Linked DNA regions of Homo sapiens: regions 2 and 3 are each linked to region 1. The links are contacts of gene promoters, found by promoter capture Hi-C in human tissues and cell types (Jung and others, 2019). All regions are on one chromosome and are shown on one strand. The core of a region is centred on a gene start or on the middle of the fragment in contact, and the rest is flanking DNA. Distances in the headings are between cores, read along the strand shown.

Evidence for each region. Contacts are between HindIII fragments. The study calls those that stand out against the background at their distance.
Region 2: a contact is called between a fragment that was not itself captured here and the fragment with the promoter of ATP6V0E1 in region 1, in 1 of the 25 tissues and cell types used here (hippocampus).
Region 3: a contact is called between a fragment that was not itself captured here and the fragment with the promoter of ATP6V0E1 in region 1, in 1 of the 25 tissues and cell types used here (aorta).

What each region holds. Positions count from the first base shown.
Region 1 is chr5:172,981,414-172,986,469 of GRCh38, forward strand. ATP6V0E1 (ATPase H+ transporting V0 subunit e1) reads left to right here and starts at 2,358. Exons shown (of 4, transcript NM_003945.4): 1 at 2,358-2,551. The coding sequence starts at 2,448. RefSeq lists an enhancer at 2,173-2,467 and a silencer at 2,233-2,412. The HindIII fragment of the contact is 13,025 bases long and covers 1-5,056 here.
Region 2 is chr5:173,344,525-173,349,580 of GRCh38, forward strand. MIR8056 (microRNA 8056) reads left to right here and starts at 2,931; the gene lies at 2,931-3,012. The HindIII fragment of the contact is 6,275 bases long and covers 1-5,056 here.
Region 3 is chr5:173,246,470-173,251,525 of GRCh38, forward strand. No RefSeq gene overlaps it. Among named protein-coding and RNA genes, the nearest start is that of NKX2-5, 14 kb to the left of the region's middle. The HindIII fragment of the contact is 3,285 bases long and covers 764-4,048 here.

The sequences.
Region 1 (5,056 bases), core at 1,108-3,607:
GAAGGAAGGAAGGAAGGAGAAAGTAGAAATGAACTTCTTTCTCTAATTTTGTTCTGACCTCATCCCTTCTTAGCTACTCAATTCAGTTGCACAGTTATTTATTGAGCACATTCTATGTATAAAGTCCTCCCGGAAACAAAGATCAGTGAAACAGTGCCTATTCTCAAGGAGTTGGCCCTCTAGTAGAGGGTTGGTCAAGATACATATACAACAAGGCCAAAGAGATGCGCTAACAGGATGAAATGGGTCTTGGAGAAGGCGGTGTTTGGGCTAGAACTTAAGGACCATAGGATTTCTGCTGGGGCTAAGTTTTGGGGAAGCATTATGAGCACAAAGGAGACAAACTAGTTTTCTACATTGCTGATCAGGTTAAAGGCTTAGAATCATGTCCGAAAAGTTGGTACAGATGTTGAAGATTATTGGTCCAGTTTCCCGTTTAATACAGGAATCCATTCTACTTGATGAAAGAAATCAGGAGTTAATGCAATGTGGCTACTGCAAGGAAACCATGGTCCCTGGTAAAGCACATTGCATTTAAAGACCTGCTTTCTATCTTGCTTTCACCTGTAAGCTTTATCATCAAGCTCCTCAACCTCTCTGAGAACTGGCTTCCTTGTCTATTCCAAGCTTGGCGCATACTATAACTAACATATGTGAAAATTCTCAGCAAGCGTTCTAAGCCCTGTTTATCAGCTCAGCACGGTGGCTTATGCCAGTAATCCCGGCACTTTGGGAGGCTGAGGTGGAGGATCCCTTCAGGCCAGGAGTTTAAGACCCACCGGGGCAACATAGCGAGGCTCTGTCTCTACAAAACATTTTAAAAATTAGCTGGTGTGGTGGTGCACACCTGTAGTCCCAGCTCCTCAGGAGGCTGAGGCAGAAGGATGGCTTGAGCCCGGGAGTTCCAGGCAGCAGTGAGCTATGGAGCACCACTGCACTCCAGCCTGGGTGACAGAGCAAGGCCCTGTCTCAAAAAACAAACAAACAAACAAAACTGTTTTACCTTTCTTTTTCTTTCTTTCTTTTTTTTTTTTTTTTTGAGGCAGAGTTTCACTCTGTCGCCAAGGCTGGAGTGCAGTGGTGCGATCTCAGCTCATTATAACCTCTGCCTCCCAGGGATTCAAGCGGTTCTTGTTCCTCAGCCTCCTGAGTGGCTGGGACTACAGGTGCATACCTGGCCAATTTTTGTATTTTTAGTAGAGATGGGATTTCACCATGTTGCCCAGGCTAGTCTTGAACTACTGACCTCAGGTGATCTGCCCGCCTCGGCCTCCCAAAGTGCTGGGATTACAGGTGTGAGCCACCATGCCTGGCCTGTTTTTCTTCTTACCATTCTGGCTAATTTCTACTTGTCTTTCAAGGCTCAGCAAGGACGAGTTGGGTAGAAAGCCTTGCAGGGTCGTCCACTTACTTTCACACTGCATTGAGTCGCCTGTTTGCAAGGTCATCTGCTCCCCAGAATGTGAACTCCCTCAGGGGTGCCTGATTGACTTCTGTAACTCCAGAGCCTGGCACAGCACACAAGATAAATAGTGGTGCGCTAGTTAAGAGCTCTGGCCTTGAAAATCAGATAATCAGGGGTTGAATCCTGGCCCTGCCACTTACTATGTGACTTTGGGCAAGATCCTTATCCTCTTCCCTGGGCCTCAGTTTCTTCAACTGCAAAGTGGGGATAATAATTACAATTACCTCATAGGCTGAAGTGAGGAGTTCAACACGGGCTCATGCACTTTTTTTTTTTTCTTTTGAGACAGAGTGTTGTTCTGTTGCCCAGGCTGGAGTGCAGTGGCGCAATCTCGGCTCACTGCAACCTCCACCTCCCGAGTTCAATTGATTCTCCTGCCTCAGCCTCCTGAGTAGCTGGGACCACAGGCGCGCACCACCACACCCAGCTAATTTTTGTATTTTTAGTAGAGACAGGGTTACACCATGTTGGCCAGGCTGGTCTCGAACTCCTGACCTCAAGTGATCCGCCTGCCTCAGCCTGCCAAAGTGCTGGGATTACAGGCGTGAGCCACCGCACCCGGCCTGGGGCTCATGAACTTAAAGATCATGGCCCAGTGCCAGGCACACGGGAATTCAGAATAGTAAGGGACAACTATTGTTAAGTTCTCTATGTCTGTTGCATAAGTAGATGAGGCTGTAGATAACTACACTCTTTGTCTAAAAGGGCCAAGTTCTCATCAGAACACTTTGCTGAGCCCCGGGTGACCGAATCCCTAGCTCTGGGGTGAGCGACATGCCTCCAAGGAGCTGCAGCCAGGAGACAGCCAGGCGAAGGCGGGGCTCTGCCTCTGGGCTCCCCGAGGGGCGGAGGCCGGCGCGCGGGTCACGTGGGGGCGCGGGAGGCGGGGCTTGCACACGCTGGTCACGCGGTCAGCTATTGACACTTCCTGGTGGGATCCGAGTGAGGCGACGGGGTAGGGGTTGGCGCTCAGGCGGCGACCATGGCGTATCACGGCCTCACTGTGCCTCTCATTGTGATGAGCGTGTTCTGGGGCTTCGTCGGCTTCTTGGTGCCTTGGTTCATCCCTAAGGGTCCTAACCGGGGGTAAGTGCGTGAGGCCCGCCTTGGGAGGAACGGGCGGTGAGGAGCTAGCAGGCCGGGGCGGGGAAAGGCACGACCCCCACACGGGTCAGAGAACGTTGCATGGGCGCCCCCCGCGCTGCAGAGTCAGGCCCCCGACCCGGCGGAACTCCTTGTGTTCCTTTTCGCAGCAGCTTCAGTGTCCTCCGGCCTGAGCGAGTGGAGGGTGACCTTTGGTGGACCCCCCTTGGAAACGAGTTTCAGGGGAATTTTTTCTCATCATAGTCCTGTGTGGGGAGGTGCAGTCGGAAATGAGCAGGCCGAATCTGGGAGAAACTGGGGTTTGTCCCTAGTCGACTGTCCCCCTTTAGCCCTGCCTTCCACCCACATGAGGCCTCGTTTGCCTGAACTTAAGGATCAAATAAATAAAACAGAAATTGGCTTCTCTGCCTCCCATGCTGTCGCGGTTGCGTACAGAACAAGCTCCTTCGACAACATTGAGCCCAGGCCTTGCATCTAGTGGGCGCCAGGAGGCGGTTGGGGCCTGATCTAAAGCGAGATTAATTACCAAAGAGCAGGAGGTATTGTTGAGAAACCCCTGCGTCATGCCTTTTGGAGGGCGCTCCGGCTCTTGTATGTGAGTGTAAGAAGTGCTTAGAATGATTGGCTAAGAAAGATTTTGTTTTTCCAGACTTCTTTGTTGGTTAGAGCTTTGTCTCTTTTGGAATTAAACTTTTTAACTGTAGTATAAAATAGAGGCTTAATCTTCAAAGGAGCCTTGGAACACCCTCTTCCTGGTTCCTCTTTTGCTTCTCAGTCATTTTTTTCTCAGTTCAAGATGATGAGAGGTGAAACTTCGACTGAAGTCAGTTTGTCAGAAACACCATCTCTTGCTTTATTCTTGAACCTAATTGGTGGCTTCATAGTGCCTGGTTTTCATAGTACCTTGTATGCACAGGAGGCACCCAATAAATACCTGTTGAGTGAATAGTTCTATTGTCTTTATTAAAAGAAAAAGATTTTTGGCCAGGTGCCGTGGCTCACGCCTGTAATCCCAGCACTTTGGGAGGCCAAGGCGGGCGGATCACGAGGTCAGGAGATCGAGACCATCCTGGCTAACACGGTGAAACCCGTCTCTACTAAAAACACAAAAAATTAGCCGGGCGTGGTGGCGGGCGCCTGTAATCCCAGCTACTCGGGAGGCTGAGGCAGGAGAATGGCGTGAACCCAGGAGGCAGAGCTTGCAGTGAGCCGAGATCGCGCCACTGCACTCCAGCCTGGGCGACAGAGCGAGACTCCGTCTCAAAAAAAAAAAAAAAAAAGAAAGAAAAAGATTTTTACTACTTCCCTAATATTTTGTGACCTGAACCCCTTTTGCTCCCTGGGATACATTTGCTTTATTAGTCTAAAATTATTTTTTTTTAAAAGATACATGGTAGATGAATTTTTATCATTTTTAAGTATCAAGTTCCTCCTCCCTGGTAACACCAGTTATATGGGGTCATCTCTCCTACCTATAGAGGTTGATGGACAGAGTCAGAATTCTGGCATTATTAAAGCAATTGTATTTACCAAAGTTAATTAGACTTGTTTTTCCTACTGGAGTTAGCGAACAACAAAGTGCTTCTTTGTTGTGTTTATATCTTCAACTGTTTCATTACCCTACTGTCTGCCTTTATGGCCTTTGTACTCAAAGAAGCATTTATTAATGTACTAATAGCACTGACAATTCCTTTCTTAAAGACCATTCTCTCCCCTTCCTTGGGATGTCATTGCCATTATCCAGGGTAATGAAACCCATCCTGTTTCCACTTAGCCCTAGAGAGTGTCATGATTCAGGTATTTGACCAGCTAGTGATATATAGACATGTGTCACTTAACAAAAGGACTATGTTTGAGAAATGTGTTAGTTGGGCTTTTGTGTGAACAAAGAGTTTACTTAAACAGATGGTACAGCCTACTACACACCTAGGCTATTTGGTAGAACCTGTTGCCTCTAGGTAGGCTACACACCTGTACAGCATGTTACTGTCCTTAAATACTGTATAGACAAATGTAACACAATGGTATTTGTGTATCTAAACATAGAAAAGGTACAGTAAAAATACATATCAAAGATTTAAAATGGTCCACCTGTGTAGGGCACTTACCATGAATGGAGCTTGCAGGACTGGAAATTGCTGTGAGTGAGTCAGTGACTGGTGAGTGAATGTGAAGAACCAGGACATTGCTGTATACCATGGTGGACTTTAGAAACACTGTATACTTAGGCTACATGAAATTTCTGAAAAAATATTTTTCTTTCTTCAAAAATAAATTAACCTTAGCTTCCTGTAACTTTTTTACTTAAACTTTTGAATTATTTTTAACTTTTTGACTCTTGTACTAACACTTGGCTTAAAACACAAGCAAGGCTGGGCACGGTGGCTCACACCCATAATATGCAGCACTTTGGGAAGCCGGACAAGAGGATTGCTTGAGACCAGCCTGGGCAACACAGCGAGACCTTATCTCTGAAAAAAATTTTTT
Region 2 (5,056 bases), core at 727-3,226, 360 kb after region 1:
TTGAGCCTGGGTCTCCTGTATCCTGGCTGTGTGAGTATCATCTAATTTGCATCTGCTCCTCCCACTTCCTTTCACCTCTGTCAAGTAACAAGGCCCTGTGCGCCCAGTCCTTCCCCATCCTCCATGCACCTCACCCTTTCTCCCAGGTTACTGCTGTCTGTATCCCTGTTACCAACAACTCTGCTTTCAGGAACCCCTGAGCCTCCCGGTGCCCATCCTCCTAGGTGTCCAGGGACTTCCATTCAGCCTGGTGCAAGTCTACTCATCCTCTCCTGGGGCCTCTGCTGGCAGCCTCAAGGCTCCAGAGGGGCTGATTCCACATAGAGGAAACTCTCCTCCAGGCTGTGTCTCCCCCATCCTTGACTGCACCTGGTGCCGTCACATGCGGGAGAAGGCTTGAGGGCCAGGCTTGTCTTTATTTCTAGGGTCACTCCTAGCCCCTTGGCCAATTTCTCTGACCTTTTCTCTTGCACTCTTCCCTGGAGACTCCATCAGTTTCCATGGCACCAGCAGTTTTCTATCACTGATTGCCAAGTAGCCCACCTGGTCCCCACCTGTGTTCGGCGTCTGTCTGCATGTCCCCAGTGGTCTCAGTCAACATCAAGGGTCAGACTCCTCACCCTGCACTGGAGCTGGCTCTGTCTCCTCGTGCTGCTGCTTCTGCCCAGGGGCGTCCTTCATGTGGGGCATCCTTCCTGCGCTCAGTCCCTCCACTCCCCTCCCCAACCTGGGTTCTGGTCTTGCCCTCGGGTTTATAGAGCAGATTTCTCAGTGGCCTGTTCCTTCCGGCTCATCCTCAGACTTCCCAGATTGTGGTAGCGCCTGTATCATGGGGAACTTTTGGCAGCTCCCAGAGGCTGCGGCGTGGGTGGCAAACTTCTCAGCAGGGAGTTCGAGTGACTCCCAGACAGCAGGTCCTGCTTCATGGGCCCTGTTTTCATCCCGTGGCCATCAGCCCTCTGACCTACCATTTGTCTAGGCCCAGGCTGCACACCCTCATGCTGCCTTTTCTTGTTCCTTATTGGGAGGCCTCCTGTGATGGTTAGTTTTATGTGTCAACTTGGCTAGGTTGTTTACCCAGTTATTTCATCAAACACTAGTCTAGGTGTTGCTGTGAAGGTATTTTATTGACGTGGTTAACAGCTGCAATCAGTTGACTTTAAGTAGAGAAGATAACCTCGATGATGTGGGTGGACCCATCTATTCAGCAGAAGGCCTTAAGAGCAAAAGCGAGGTCTCCTTAGAGAAACTCTGCCTTAAGGCTGCAGCCTCAACTTCTGTCCGAGTTTTCAGCCTACTGGCTTGTCCTAGCAGGCCAGACTTTCCAGCTTCTACCATCGTGTGAGCCAGTTCCTTACAAGAAATCCCTCTCTCTCTCCACACTACCCCCACTGCCCCGCACATATGCAGTTGGCCCTTGAACAACTCGGGATTAGGGGTGCCCACCCTTCCTGCAGCTGAAAATCCAAGTATAACTCTTGACTCCTGTATTAGTCTGTTCTCATACCGCTATAAAGAACTACCTGAGACTGGGCAATATATGAAGAAAAGAGCTTTAATTGACTCACAGTTCTGCAGGCTGTACAGGAAGCATCATTAGGTGGCCTCAGGAAACTTACAATCATGGCAGAAGGCAAAGAGGAAGCAAGCACACCTTACCATGGCCAAGCAGAAGGGGAGTGAAGGGGGAAGTGCTACACACTTTTAAACAACCAGATATCGTAAGAACTCACTCACTGTCATGAACAGCAAGGGGAAATCTGCCCCCATGATCCAATCACCTCCCACGAGGCCTCTCCCCCAACGTTGGGAATTATAATTTGACATGAGATTTGATTGGGAACACAGAGTCAAACCATATCAACGCCTCAGAAACATAACTACTAATAGCCTACTGTTGACCAGAAGCCTCACTGATAACACCAACAGTCCATTAACATACATTTTGTATGTTATATACTGTATTCCTACAATATTATATACTGTAAAATATACTGTATTCTGACAATAAAGTAAGCTAGAGACAATGAAATTTGATTCTTCTGAGATAGTGTGAAAAAAGAAAATATTAGGAAAATTATAAGAAAGAGAAAATACATGTACAGGACTGTACTGTATTTACCAATACCGTAAGTAAGTTCTTACCATCTGTTTGCAAGATGAATTGTCTATCTGAAATGTCAGGCAGCTGTAGCTGCAGACCTCAATCTACAGTACATCTCAAGCAAGTCGGCTTTTTCTTGTGATGTCATGGCTTTTCTCTGCTTCTGGGGAGCACTTCCAGCATCATCAGTGGCACCTCGTATGGGCCCCATGGTGTTATTTAAGGTTGCACTAAACACAGTGAAAAATACACAGGTACCACAAGAGATCACTTTTTACTGCAATATGCAATTTACTGGAGGGATGAACTGCTCACACGTGGACGATTGGTGTCACAGTCACACAGCATTTTAAGTGGATACTCGAAACACTTGAGCTCATTGCAGAAGACAGAAGATGTCTATATAATTATCACAGCAGTACAGGATGTACTACAGTCAATTTTATGCAATTATTTAATATTACATCTTTACATTTGTTTACATTTCTCTAGAATGTGAATGTGCCTGTGGTCGATTTTGTATGTGTAAGTTTTGAGAAATTTTAACTTTTTATAATAGATTGTGTATATTTTATGGTAATAAGTGATTAAATAGACTACTATCTACATGTTTTATGCATTCATGACACACCTTTTTTGTTTTTTTGGTATTTCTAGGCTACACAGTTAGTGAGAATTTCAAATTCAAAAAATTTTCCAATACATTTACTGAAAAATGTCAGGTATAAGTAGGCTTATGTACTTCAAACCTGTGTTGTTCAAAGGTCAACTGTATTACTGGTTCTGTTTCTCTGGCAAACCCTAATTCACTTACCTCCTCTGAAGCCTTCTCTGAGCATCCAGCCTCTAGGAGCTGTGCCTCCTGGCCTATTCCTGTTCGTGGATTGTCTGGATGCATCCTTGAGACTTTGCTCATGCAGTGGCTGTGGAGTTACAGAGCTTCAGGTTGCACCCTCAGTGTGGTTCTTGAGGATAGGTACCCCTTTTGTACTTACTGGGCTCTCCCTCAGCTCCTAGGAGAGATAAACACATGGTAGGTGGTCACTTACTATTTGCGGAATGAATGCACGTGGTGGGACTGAGTGGTAAATCAGGGAGAGTGGTGATTTTAAGCTGATTAGAAACACATTCCTGGCCAGGTGTGGTGGCTCATGCTTGTAATCCCAGCACTTTGGGAGGCCGAGGCGGGTGGACCACTTGAGGTCAGAAGTTTGAGACCAGTGTGGGCAACATGGTGAGACCCTGTATCTACTAAAAATTAAAAAAAAAAATAGCTGGGTATGGTGGTGCGTATCTGTAGTCCCAGCTACTCGGGAGGCTAAGGTGGGAGGATCACTTGAGCCCAGGAGTTTGAGGCTGCAGTGAGCTACGATTGTGCCACTGCACTCCAGCTTGGGTGACAGAGCAGGAGCCCATCTCCAACAAACAACAACAGCAACAGCAGCAGCAGCAACAACAACAACAACGAAACAGTAATCTAAACAGTTGGTTTATTCTTTTGGTGTTTGAGGCCAAAGGCTCTGAAATAGTCCTTAACTACCTTTTCTTCTTATTCTCCCTCTTCCTATCTCCTTGCCCAGCATGGTCTCCAAACCTAAAACAAACTTATATCTTAGAGAAAATTAGGAGATTGGTAGGGTTTGAATGTGTGTGTCTTTCCAAAATTCATATGTTGGAACTTAACACCCAAGATGGGGATATTAAAAGGTGGGTCCCTTGGAAAGTGATCAGGCCCTCAGGGCTCTGACCTCATAGGTGAGATTAGTGCCATTTTTTTTTTTGAAACAGAGTTTTGCTCTTGTTGCCCATGCTGGAGTACGATGGCATGATCTTGGCTCACTGCAACCTCCGTCTCCCGGGTTCAAGTGATTTTCCTGCCTCAGCCTCCCAAGTAGCTGGGATTACAGGCATGCGCCACCATGCCCAGCTAATTTTTTGTATTTTTAGTAGAGACGGGGGTTTCATGATGTTGGTCAGGCTGGTCTTGAACTCTGGACCTCAGGTCATCCACCTGCCTTGGCCTCCCAAAGTGCTGGGATTACAGGCATGAGCCACCACACCTGGCCTGATTAGTGACATTTTAAAGGGCTTGGGGGAGAGTTTACTCCTTTTGCCCTTCTATCTCTTCCACCTGGGAGGATACGGTGTTTGTGATACCACCCTGGAAGCAGAGAACAGCCCTCAGCAGACACCGAAGGTGCTGAGGCCTTGATTTGGGACTTCTGAGCCTCCAGAACTGTAAGAAATACCGGCACAGCTTGTTTTATTGCACTTTGCTTTGTTGTGCTTTGAGTTACTGGTTTTTTTTTTTTTAAATATGTTGAAGATTTGTGGCACCTTTGCATTGAGCAAGCATACTAGCACCATTTTTCCAACAGCATGTACTCATTTCATGTGTCTGTATCACATTTTGGTAATTCTCACAATACTTCAAACTTTTTCATGATCTATGATGGTGATCTGTGATCATTGATGTTACTATTGTAATTGTTTTGGGGCACCCCAAACGGCACCCATATAAGATGGCAAACTTAATCAACACAGGTTGTATGTGTTCTGACTATTCCACTGACTAGCCATTCCCCCATCTCCCTTCTCCTTGGGCCTCCTTATTCCCTGAGATACAACAATATTGAAGTTAGGCAAATTAATAACCCTGCAATGGCCTCTATGTGTTAAAGTGAAAGGAAGAGTTGCATGTCTCTCACTTTAAATCAAAAGCTGGAAATGATTAAGCTTAGTGAGGATGGCAGGTCAAAAGCTGAAAGCTAGGCCTCTTGCACCAGTTAACCAAGTTGTGCATGTAAAGAAAAAGTTGTTGAGGGAAATTAAAAGTGCAACTCAAGTGAACACACAAATGATAAGAAAGCAAAACAGCCTTATTGCTGATATGGAGAAAGTTTGAGTGGTCTGGGTAGAAGATCAAATCAGCCACAACATTCCCTTAAGCCA
Region 3 (5,056 bases), core at 1,156-3,655, 270 kb after region 1:
TCATTTTCTGTATTCAAAGTCGGCTGTATCCAGTTTTTTAAAAATAAAAATAAACCAAATAACAATAACAAAGCACTCTCAGTCTCCTCCTGCCTTCCATGCACAAACCCATCAATGACCTCTATAAACATGGGAGTCAGCCTCTCGGTGTTTCCAGCCTCACAATTACCCACGGGGATCCCCTCTCTTGAGAAGCTGTAGGGAAAGATACCTCTTGGCTTCAACACAGACTTGCTCCCTTCCGACTTGCCCGGGATCACTCTGGATTACTCCAACTGCTGACGGAGGACCACCCACCAAAACACAGCCTGGCCTTGGGAAAGCGTGGGTTCTCATTTATCAGGGTTTATTTATCCAAAATAAAAATTACTGTAGAAAAGTAAAGGAGGGAAAAACATCTTCCTCCCTTAGGAGGCTTTTTTGAATGAATCTTCTTCTCATTCTTTAAGGCCTTGGTTTAGGCCTTCCTATTCCCTGTGGTCCTTTGACATTATCTCAGCCTTAGTTAAAAAAAAAAAAAAATAGTGAATTTGATTATTATCAGTAACCAAAGGTTGCTGGTGGAGGAAGGGAGACTAGCTGTGTTTTCTTGCATGATGGTTCATTTGCACCGTGTGCTATGCTGGAACCAGAAGAACATGAACTGGACATCACCCTCCCATTCCTGGCCCAATGCTTGAATGCCCTTGTCTCCTGGCCTCTTTGGTTACTCTGGTGACCTAGTTACTCAGTCCTGGGTAGCCCTGGAGATGACTCTCCTGGAGGGGGAGGGCTGCCTCTCCCACTCCTCCAGGCCAGGGGCCCTCAAGCAGGGCTACTCTGAATGAACACTTTTGTTAGAAGGAGCCCTGGGAGATTCGTTTCTTTTCTTCTAACAAGATGTGTGGGTGGGAGATGAGGAAGTCCGGGCATTTATAATTCAGAGTGGTGAGACAGCCAAGGGGGGTGTAGGTGAGGACCCCAGTGCATCGCCCTCTCCCTAGATGTGACAGTCATCGCCTAGGGACCCAGGCTCTTTTCCTAACAGAAGCTGTACTGCCCGTTCATTAGAAGTGGGAGAGGGGAGGTGGGACCAGGTGGCACTGGGAAAACTCTCAGCCACTCCCGAATCCTGCCTTGCATCCTGCCTGCCAAACCATTCCTGGATCCTGACTCTGGGAGATGCTACTTAGGGCAAGAAAGCTGGCTTTGCTTGTGCCTGTGACAAATTATGGGATCCCCTAAGTTCCCAGCCAAGTCCAGCAGTGTACTTGCTTCCACTTGCTGAACACTTTCTGATTTTGGGGGAACTTTTAACTCCAGTGTAACACAGGACTGCACAAAATAACAGCTGCCTCACTAGCATGCAGTTCAGGAAGCAGAACATTACCAGTAGCTACTAAGCCCTCTTGAGTTCTGTTTCCCGGCAGGGCAGTAACTATTCTGACTTCTAACAACAGAATAGTTTTGCCTGTTTTCAGACTTCACATGTATCTAAATACAGTATATACACTCTTTGTGTCTGATAATTTTACTTAGTATATGTTTGTGAGGTTCAATCACATTGTTTGTAGTTGTAGCTAGCTACTTTTCATTGCTGTCGAAACATTTCATTATGTGAAGATGCTACTGTTTATCGCCATTCTCTGCTGATGGACATTTGGGTAGTTTCCAGTTTTTGACTGTTAGGAATAGTGAGTGCCTCTATGAATTGTCTTGCGTGTGTCTTTTGGTGAACATGTTTACACATTTCTGTTGGGTAAATTTCTAGGAGTAGAATTGCTGGATCATATGATATTCACAAATCCAGCTAGAGTACATTCTACTCAGCGTTTTCCAACCTGGTTGTACAGATTTACCCTCATACTGGCAGTGTACAAAAATGGCAGTTTCTCCGCATCCTTGCAAACATTCGGTATTACATGTTTTAGATTTTAAGCCGTTCTGGTGGGGGCGTGGGGGTGTCTCATTGTGGTTTTATTTCACCTTTCCCTAATAACTAGTGAATTGAGGATCTTTTCAAATGTTTATTGATTTTTTGAATATACTTTTTTTGTGAAGTGCCTGTTTAAATCTTTTGCCTTTTTCTTATTGATTAGTGAGAGTTCTTTGCATATTCAGATAGGAGTCCCCTGTGGGTTATATGCTTATTGTGAATAATGTCACCCTGTCTGTGGTTTGCATTTTTACTCTCTTAATGATATAGCACCTATTTTTGGCTCTGGTCTAGTGACATACTTCTGACCTTGAGGTTGTAGCACTGCTAGTCTACATCTAGGGTATCTGTGGCTGGGATATTTTCTTGGGCTCTGGACTACCAGGCCTGCCAACATGGTAAAATCTTTGAAGACAGAATCCAGGGCTGGTTCTGCTTGTTTTTCTCATAGTTAACTAAAGCTTTGTCCTTCCCAAGAATATTTTAATGACCCATTAAATGGGGGAAACTGCAATAGGACCCTTTGGATTTTACAGAGAGGGCTGAATTCATTATCATGCATCCCTTTTTAATACATAGTAGTGGGTCAGATCTTTACAGAGCAATGCAACCAGAAGAGTGTAAATTCTTTGAGTTTGGAAACATGCACAGTGTAAACCTGGAAGGAGAGCTGAGGCCTACCCCCTTTTAAAATCTCAGTCTAAGCCCTGCCTCTTCCAGGGAGTTTTTCCTGATTGCTGCTGTTCAGGAAGAGAACATGAGTGAAATGTGGGTATAATTTTGAACAATCCTTCTGGAAAGCAATTTGGGAATTTTCATTTTAAAAATCTTTACAAAATACAAGGTGAAAATAGCATAAAATTAGTTTTAGTTATTTTAATCATTATTTGTTTGTTTATTTATTTGACAGGGTCTCACTCTGTCTCCCAGGCTGGAGTGCAGTGGTGTGATCACGGCTCACTGTAGCCTCTACTTTCCAGGCTCAAGTGATCCTCCCACCTCAGCCTTCTGAGTAGCTGGGACTACAGGTGTTTGCCACCACACCTGGCTAGTTTTTAAATTTTTTGTGGAGAGAGAGGGGTCTCCCTATGTTTCCCAGGCTGGTCTTGAACTCCTGGGCTCGAGTGATCCTTCAGTCTCAGCCTTCTGAGTAGCTGGGACTACAGGCGTGCACCACCACCATGACTGACTAGTTTTTAAAATTTTTGTAGAGACAGGGTCTAGCCACGTTGCCCAGGCTGATCTGGAACTCCTTGGGCTCAAGCGGTCCTCCTACATTGGCCTCCCACAGTGCTGGGATTACAGATGTGGGCCACTGTGCTTGGCCTATTTTTCAGTGTTTTAAACCCGTTTGTATTTTTCTTTTTAAAGAGGTGTTATCTTAACAAGTTTGGGGAGTTAGGGAAAAAATTGAAAAGAAAAGGTATTATCTGTTTTCATCTTTGATCTATTGAGATCTTAGGAACCCTTTGTCATTTTATTTTGTGCTGCAAATATTTTTGCCATTCTCCCGTTTGTCTTTTCAAAACGTTCATTTTTTAGTTGAAGACACTTGATGATAATGTACGAAGGGGCCACTCAAACACGGGGTGGGGTGTTTGATTCCCAGTTGGGACTGGTCAAGAGCAATGTCAGGGCCCTAACCTCCCTTACAGCTGGCCCGAGGCAGTGGGGATTCCAGAGGACAGAGGCCTATCCCACTCTAGCCTTGTAGAGTATGAAGAGTCTGTAAGTAGCTGGCTTCAGAGACTGGGGAAACCTGGGGGACTGCCTTCCTTGAAGCTTCCATCCTGGGCCCCAGGCTGGCAAAGATGGAATGGAGGAGGGAGTGCCACTGGCTACTCCCAGGGAAGAAGGAAATTGAGAGCAGGTAATCCAACAGAAAGAAGTGAGGAAGAAGAGGTGCCTTGAGTTTGGGCTGGTGGGTGGAGGGGACTTGGGGAGGATCCAGAAGAAAGGAGAACATCAGCCAGGCGGGAAATCTGATGGGCAGACTCAGGCTCTGGAGTAGGGCTGCAACCTACTGCATGGAATTGTTTAATCTCCCTGAACCTCAGTGTTCTTATCTGTCAAATGGGATAATACTTGTACTTTGTCAAAAGATTATTTGTGAGAACTAAAGAAGATAACATTGTAAAATATAGCCTCAGATTCTTTGCCACTCTTCTGATTGAGAGGTAGGGTCTATGTCCTCCCGCTTTCAATACAGCAATTTTTCTACTGCCTCAACCAATAGAGTACTAAGGAAGTGGCACCATGAGACTGCAAGCTGTAGGTCAGAAAAAGCCACTTACCTTCTTTTCTGTTTACTGGAGCATTTGCTCTTGGATCCCTGAGCTACTGTGTGAGAGACTGACTCCCTTGAGCTGTGAAGAAGCTCAAGCTATAGAAAGAGGCCACAGGTAGGACACTGTGGTGGACAGTTCTAGCTAAGCCAGCCTTCTAGTCGTTCCAGTGCAGGTGCCAGATGTGTGAGTGAGGAAGCTTCCAGATGATTCCAGCACCTAGCTGATCCAGGTTTTGTTGTTGTTGTTGTTGTTTTTGACAGGTCTTTTTTTGGTATGTCTCCCAGGCTGGAGTGCAGTGACACGATCTCGGCTCACTGCAACCTCCGCCTCCCAAGTTTAAGCAATTCTCCTGTCTTAACCTCCTGAGTAGCTGGGAATACAGGCACATGCGGCCACACCCGGCTAATTTTAGAGACGGGGGTTTCACCATGTTGGCCAGGCTGGTCTCGAACTCCTGACCCCAGGTGATCTGCCTGCCTCAGCCTCCTAAAGTGCTAGGATTACAGGCGTGAGCTACTTCGCCCCACTGGTTGATCCAGTCTTCATAGCTGAGGCCCCAGGCTTCATAGAGCAGAGAAAACTCATCCCTGTTGTGTCCTCTCCAAACTTCCAACCCTCAAAATCAGTGAGCATAATGAAACGTTTGTTTTCATACCACTGAGTTCTGGGATTGTTTGTTATGCAGCAGTTAGATAACCGGAACGTGGTCCAAATAGAACGGGTTAGTGTACTGCTTGCCCAGTAGTAGGTGCTAAAGAAACAGCACCTGTCGGTAGCATTTTGGTAACAGGGGTATTCCAGCGTAGAGAACAAAGGGCTGTTAAGGAAGAAAAGGCAGAGGGCCCTGCTCGAG